2 separate regions of the Homo sapiens genome follow, and region 2 is linked to region 1. The links are contacts of gene promoters, found by promoter capture Hi-C in blood cells and fetal thymus (Javierre and others, 2016). All regions are on one chromosome and are shown on one strand. Each heading gives the region's core, a stretch centred on a gene start or on the middle of the fragment in contact. The rest is flanking DNA. Distances are from core to core; before and after follow the strand shown. Region 1 holds the start of COX16 (cytochrome c oxidase assembly factor COX16). Region 2 overlaps ERH (ERH mRNA splicing and mitosis factor).

The links. Contacts are between HindIII fragments. The CHiCAGO score rates a contact against its expected background, and 5 or more counts as called.
Region 2: a fragment that was not itself captured here is called in contact with the fragment with the promoter of COX16 in region 1 in 2 of 17 cell types (naive CD4 T cells and non-activated CD4 T cells); the score reaches 6.9 in naive CD4 T cells.

Annotation. Positions count from the first base shown.
Region 1 is chr14:70,357,893-70,361,593 of GRCh38, forward strand. COX16 (cytochrome c oxidase assembly factor COX16) reads right to left here and starts at 1,791. Exons shown (of 4, transcript NM_016468.7): 1 at 1,627-1,791. The coding sequence starts at 1,695. The region is part of intron 3 of SYNJ2BP-COX16 (SYNJ2BP-COX16 readthrough); the gene reads right to left. It also overlaps the pseudogene RNU2-51P. RefSeq lists enhancers at 1,511-1,820, 2,281-2,370. The HindIII fragment of the contact is 4,146 bases long and covers 1,256-3,701 here.
Region 2 is chr14:69,393,235-69,396,935 of GRCh38, forward strand. ERH (ERH mRNA splicing and mitosis factor) reads right to left here. Exons shown (of 4, transcript NM_004450.3): 2 at 1,591-1,678. Among named protein-coding and RNA genes, the nearest start is that of ERH, 3.2 kb to the right of the region's middle. The HindIII fragment of the contact is 531 bases long and covers 1,874-2,404 here.

The sequences.
Region 1 (3,701 bases), core at 541-3,040:
TTCCCTACCTGAGAGAAATGAAAACATACTTCCACACAAAGCGTGTACATAAATGTTCATAGCAGCATTATTCATAATAGTCAAAAATTGAAACAACCCAAATGTTCATCAATTGATAAAATATATCCAAACAATGGAATTATATCCATCAAAAGGAATGAAGTATTGATATATGTTACAATGTGAATGAACCTTAAAAACATTCTAAGTGGAAGAATCCAGTCACAAAAAACCCACGTTGTATTAGTGTGTTAATATGAAATGTGCAGAATAAGCAAATTTACGGGTAGAAGTAGATTAGTGGTTTACCAGGCCAGCATTAAGAGGCAGGAAGAAATGGGAAGTGACTACTATTAGTTATGATGCTTTTTTGGGGGCAATGAAAATGTTCTAAAATTGTGGTGATGGCTCCATAACTAAGAATATACTAATATACGAATATATTAGTATACTAATATCGAATTTGCTAAAAACAACAATTTTTTTTTTTTTTTTTTTTTTTGGAGAGACAGAGGTCTTGCTGGTTTGGAACTCCTGACCTAAAGCGATCCTCCTGTCTTGGCTTCCCCTAACACTGGGATTACAGGTGTGAGCCATCGTGCTTGGCCCAGATACTTCAAATGGGTGAATCTTTTGGAGATTCCTAAAATCCACATTTGATGAATGTGGATTTTTCAAAACTGTGTAAAATATCCATTACCTTTCTAAGATCACTTCTTTCCTTTAGTCTGCTTAAATGGAAAAGCTGGTAATTTCATCTGCGCCAACATTCATACAAAATAAAAATATAGTCTGTATTTAAAAGCAGCTTTTGTTCATATGCTTTAATTATTTCATTTACTAACACATCAAGGCTTGCTGAAGCAAAATAACTGGCCCGTAATCAAAAAGCAAATAAGAGTCATCTGGATTTCAACTCTGGTTGTCTTAAGCCAGCCTCAGCCTGCATTTCATGACATCCTTAGGGAACTCAGTGTGGATATGGATGAAACCATATAAACACGGAAGCTGTTTTCAACGTGCTTTAGAAATTATAACACAGCAATCATTCTGGCTACAATGTGGCAGGCACCGTACTCAACACTTTATTCACAAGGTGTTATTAGTTCATCACAACTCTAAGTATTAAGCTAATTCACAAACTAGAAAGATGAAACAGAAAGATACCAGGAATTCGTGCAGTTAAATGGAATACATCTAGTCCCAATGATCCACAGTATCGTCAAAACATAGCTAAGTTGGGGGCGAGGAAGCAAGCTTAGTAATCATCCAAACTTGGCTTAAAGTGTGGTTCTGACTGAATTCTCTGAGCTTCAATTTACTTAACTGTGAATCAAGGGTAGTAACAATGACCGCGTTCGACGATGGGAAAGACGCCACGCTCACAAGCAGACAGATCCTAGTACACCTGAAATCCAACCGGGAGTGGGGGACAGCGGCGGGGAAGTGGGGGTGTGGAAAAGACTGGTGGAAGAGCTTTTAGGAAAGCTCTCACCCCGTCGCTAGCTCCTTCCTAGCCCGAGTGCCAGCCCTTAACTTCACATTTTACAGATTCCCTCCCAGGTCTTGATCCTGCCAAGGAGGAGGGTCCCACCCCTTGCGGAAGATCCTCCTCACTCCACTCACCAACATGGGGACTCCATAGCCGAGAGTCTTGTTCTTGCGAAAAGCACGCATCACCGCGGGTGCAAACATGAGTGAACTCTTCCATCGGCTCAGAACTCCAAGCGGGCCTAGCGCAGACTCCCAAATCTCAGCAGCTCACGCTCTCACCAAGACGAGTACGTCCTTAACTCACTTCCTTTTCCTTGGTTATTTGGTGCTCGGTCCTTAGTGAATGGTTTCCGCTAGGCAAAAGCAATCGAGCCATCGTAACATACTTGTGCGTCCGCCCAGAAATGTGGGCGTCAGCGTTTTTGGTTCCGTAACGTCGGCGTGCAATTGGGATTTAGAGATTTGAATCGGTTTACGATCACCACCAAATTGATCTGGAAACCAGTACTTCCCACGTTCTGGGTCCTAACTAACGTCTGCTTAGAACACTCCCTTAGGCACATAGCCACTCGATAAAATCAGCTAAGGAAAAAAGTATTTTGAGGCCGGGCGCGGTGGCCTGGGTGGGTGGCCTGTAATCCCAGCACTTTGGGAGGCCGAGGCCGGTAGATCACCTGAGGTCAGGAGTTCTAGATCAGCCTGGTCAACATGGTAAAACCCCGTCTCTATTAAAAAAAAAAAATACAAAAATTAGCCGGGCGTGGTGGCAGGCGCCTGTAATCCCAGCTACTGGGGGGCCGAGGCAGGAGAATCGCTTGAACCCGGGAGGCGGAGGTTGCAATGAGCAGAGATCGCGCCATCGCACTCCAGCCTGGGGAACAAGAGCGAGACTTCGTCTCAAAAAGAAAAAAGAAAAAAAAGTATTTTGAAGCTGGTACTCCAGTCTTTATGGCTATTTGTGGGATGAGGAATTTGCCAGTTTAATGGAGACTTTTAAAAATAAATCGCTTTTGAAAGATTAGGTTGAAATGTAATCAGTGTAGTGTCTCATCAGTCATTACTGAACTTTTAATGCTAATGATTTTACTGTGAGATAACCTGTAATCTTTAGTCATTTATGAATGTCTATTTACCAATGATTCAGCAACCATACAGGCCACCTTTCAGCGTGTCTTTGAAAGGGTTCTAGGAACACAGATAAAAATATATGATCCTTACCTTAAAGACACTGGCGATTTCATGGGCACAGAAACAAACATGTGTGAAGTACTGGGATAGCTTAGGAAGCCGATCCCCCACGTGTCCCATTTACCAGAGTGAATCAGAGTGCAGGTGATGCGGAATATTATCTTCCATGCTATTCCTGAAATATTTCCATCTGTCCCTGCCTCTCTGTTACCACTGAAATGTTCCTTTTTTTAATTCCTTATCATCTTTTCACCTATTAAAGTAGCCTCTTAAGTGGTCTCCAGAAGAGAAGCTCCAGATCTACTGCAGGCTACTCCAGTGAAACTTATCCTTTTGGCTAAGATCAAGTGTAGTATCTGTTCTTAACAGTTTAATATTTGACACATTCTCTATCCAAGGAAAATATGTTAAATGGGTTTTTGAAGCAAGGAGATGGAATAGGAGTTTGCTCCACCACTCTACACATCAACCTGTATTTCAATACCTCCAGAAACCCAGGAACGGTGCATCTCTCCCATCTTATTTACTTCCTTTTGATATTTCAAAATTCATGCAGACCAGGCATGGTGGCTCATGCCTGTAATACCTGCAGTTTGGGAGGCTGAGGCAGGAGGATCATTTGAGCCCAGGAGTTCGAGACCAGCCTGAGCAACAAAGCAAGACCCCATCTTTACAAATAATAATAATAATAATAAATTAGCCAGGCATGGTGGGGTCTCAGCTACTTGGGAAGCTGAGGTGGGAAGATCACTTGAGCCCAGGAGGTCCAGGCTACAGTGAGCCGTGATCATGCCACTGCACTGCAGCCTGGGTGACACAGCTAGACCCTGTTTCAAAAATAAATAAATAAATCTCACGTGGCATCCAGGTTAGTTAAGCGTATCACATCTCCTACTTTCCCTAAGATCCTAGAAGCCAAAGGCGCTGCTCTAAAACTCTAGCGTTTTCCTACATCTTCACTACATAAAACATCAGCCTACTGGATACTACTCCATCAAAACCCGGCACCTAAGTAGTAG
Region 2 (3,701 bases), core at 889-3,388, 960 kb before region 1:
TGAACCAAGAAGGCAGAAGTTGCAGTGAGCTGAGATGCACCACTGCACTCCAGCCTGGGCGACAGAGTGAGACTCTGTCTCAAAAAACAAAAAGAAACAAAGACACCTGCACTCATACGTTTACGGCAGTACTATACACAACAGCAAAGTCATGGAATCAACTACGTATCCATCAATGGATGACTAGACAAAGGAAATGTGGTGTATGAGAATGCATGCACACACATCCCATGGAATACTACTCAGCTATTAAAAAAAGAATAAAACCATGTCTTTGCAGCAACATGGATGGAATTGGAGGTCATTATCTCAAGTGAAGTAACTCAGAAAGTCAAACATTTAATGTTCTCATTTATTAGTGGAGGCTAAATGATGTGTGCACATGGACAGACAGAGTGGAATAACTGACACTGGAGACTACAAAAGGTGGGAGAATGGTGAGGGATGAAAAATCACTACTGCGTACAATGTACACCAGGTGATGGCTACAATAAAAGCCCAGACTTGGTTGGCGCGGTGGCTCATGCTTGTAATCCCAGAACTTTGGGAGGCTAAGGCAGGAGAACTGCCTGAGGCTAGAAGTCTGAGACCAACATGTGCAACACAGTGACCCCATCTCTATAAAAAAACCAAAAAATTAGCCAGGTGTGGCGGCAGGTGCCTCTAGTCCCAGCTATTTGGGAGGCTGAGGCAGGAGGACTGCTTGAGCCCAGGAAACTGAGACTGCAATAAGCCATTATCACCACTGTACCCCAGCCTGGGTGACAGAGCAAGACCCCGTGTCTTAAGGAAAAAAAAAAAAAGGCCCAGACTTTACTACTATGCCATATATCTATATAAGAAGACTACACTTGTATCCCTTAAATCTATTAAAACAACCTATTAAAAACAGACAGACACACAAGCCTATAGTGTTTGAGCTTAACCAGAATATATAAGGGATACCTGTAAAATATTTCCATACTGTAACAAAATAACATGTGACAAATAAGAAGAGAATATTTATAAAACAACAAGCAGCTCTGGAAAGTCACTCATTATATACATTAGTTTAAAAAAAAAAAACACCTAATACTTGTAGCAAGGAGGATACTATATACATAATTAATGTTTAAAATGTTCAACCGGCCAAGGCGGATTACTTGAGGTCAGGAGCTCGAGACCAGCCTGGCCAACATGGTGAAACCCCATCTCTACTAAATACACAAAAAATTATCTGGGTGTGGTGGCCCATGCCTGTAGTCCCAGCTACTTGGGAGGCTGAGGCACAAGAGAATCACTTGAACCTGGGGGGCGGAGGTTGCGTAAGCCGAGATCGCATTACTGCACTCCAGTCTGGGTGATAGAGCGAGACTCTGTCTCAAATAATACATAAATAAACAAACAAATAAATAAAATGTTCAATAATTATGGTCCATCCTAAATATCTGCTTTCCCTCCTAAAATTAGCAATTCAATAAATTTGGAGGGTTGGAAGTGATAAAGGCAGGGCCTGGGGTGGATGGACTATTAAAAAAAAAAAATTTGGAGGGGAAAAACCCAGTTCCTAAATGAGACATTTTTCTACCCCTTGATTAGTGTTAAACTCACCTTCCATGCATTCATTCACAGATTCGTAGTCAGCATAAGTTCTGCCTTCTGGCCTCTTGGTAGGCTGTACCAGCAAAATGGTGTGAGACTGCAGGGGAAAACATGATTTCAATATAAGTTTCTATTTGAGAAATTCATAGTATGATAAAAAAAAATCCCCATTTGTAATGCAATAATGATTGCTAGTTATTAAAATGTAATTAGAGAGGCCAGGCATGGCATCCCATGCCTATAATCCTCATCCTCTGGGAGGCTGAGAGGGGGAAAATCACTTGAGGCCAGAAGCTTGAGACCAACCTGGGCAACATAGCAAGACCCTGTCTCTACAAAAAAATAAAATTTGCCGGGTGCATGCCTGTAGTCCCAGCACTTTGGAAGTCTAAGGCAGGAGGATTCCTTGAGCCCAGGAGGCTGAGACTGCAGTGTGCCATGATCACACCATTGCATCGGAGAGTGAGGCCCTATCTCTTAAAAGAAAAAAAAAAGTCATTAGGATACTTTTCCCACAAAAATATTGATGTCTTAGTCTAAGTATAGTATCTAGCTGGATTCACAACTCTGCTGTACGGTCTCCCTAAGTCTCCCAGTCCTACCGTACTTACTGCCTACAAGTAATCAGTATAAGCTACCTTGCCCTCCTTTTCCTTTTCTATCTTTTCTTCCCAACTAAATTATAAACCTGCTTAGGTTTTCTGTCTCCAGTGGTCACTTTCCATCTTTAATGCTCTTAAGTCACTAATAAAAACTCAGATGGGCTGATGAAAGGAAACAAAAGGGGAAATAGTATAATAATCACAAGCATGGTTTCAACTTAAGCTTTTTTTCCAACCTCAGCGTAAGAGCAAAGTCACATTTTATCCAGGGGTTAGACTTAACATTAAAGCAGTAGATAAATTAGCAATATAAACATATCATAAGAATTACCCTTAAAAATCCATTAAACTATTCACCTAGTAGATGACTTGCCTTACTGGGCTTTCTCATACCAAAATCACATATTAGAATCACACAGAAAGTTAGGTCATCACACTATGAGAAATGTGAAATAATGCCCATAGCAGACAGACTTGTCTTCCACTTCGTGCTCACTGGGAAACATGTTTTTGTTAGTGATCAGTCACTAACAAATCAATCTCAGTGTTTTCTCAACGTGGGCTCTATTACCTTTTGGGTTGACTGATTCTTTGTTACAAATGTCCCTTGGGGAGCAAAAAATCTCATCCAGCTGAGAATTCACTGGTCTGTTGAAAATATGACCCATCCAATTTTCTGCTACATGTGTAAGGTTAATTAAATGCAAGTATGATGCAACTCCACTGTAAATCCAGTCCCAAATCAAACTATTCACCTTTTTCCTTCTCTTCTGCTGTACTAGTATTTTTCAGCCAAAAACCAGAAAACAAAAATTTCCTAACAGGAACCCTAAACTGTTTTGGAATAACATAATTTTTTTTTGGAGACAGTTTTGTTCCTGTTGCCCAGGCTGGAGCGCAAAGGCGCGATCTCAGCTCACCGCAACCTCTGCTTTCCGGGTTCAAGCGAATCTTCTGCTTCAGCCTCCCAAGTAGCTGGGATTACAGGCATGCACCACCATGCTCGGCTAATTTTGTCTTTTTAGTAGAGATGGGGTTTCTCCATGTTGGTCAGACTGGTCTTGAACTCCCGACCTCAGGTGATCTGCCTGCCTCGGCCTCCCAAAGTGCTGGGATTACAGGCGTGAGCCACCGCGCCTGGACAAAATGATCAGAATTTTTAACCATCAAATTGGAACAGAAATAGCTGAAGCCCAGACTTTCTGAATAAACAATGGAAAAATAGTACATTTAACATGACATGCAAAACCAAGGGTTATCATACCCTTCTCTCCCCATCAAGAACTAAACCACTTTGACTAAAAGTTTCAGAGGGTTTGACATAAAAACGGAACTTGGTGACAAGAGACGAAGGATTAACTCTCACCTGTAATAACCTGAGCAGTCAAAGCCTTTGTTAAATCGATTTAAAAGCCACAGAAAGCATCATATTAGATTATTTGTTATACAGAAGTCTTTGTAAGCTAGCTACTCAAAAAGTTTCAACGAGTCATTTAAGAAAAAATAATTTTGTAGAAA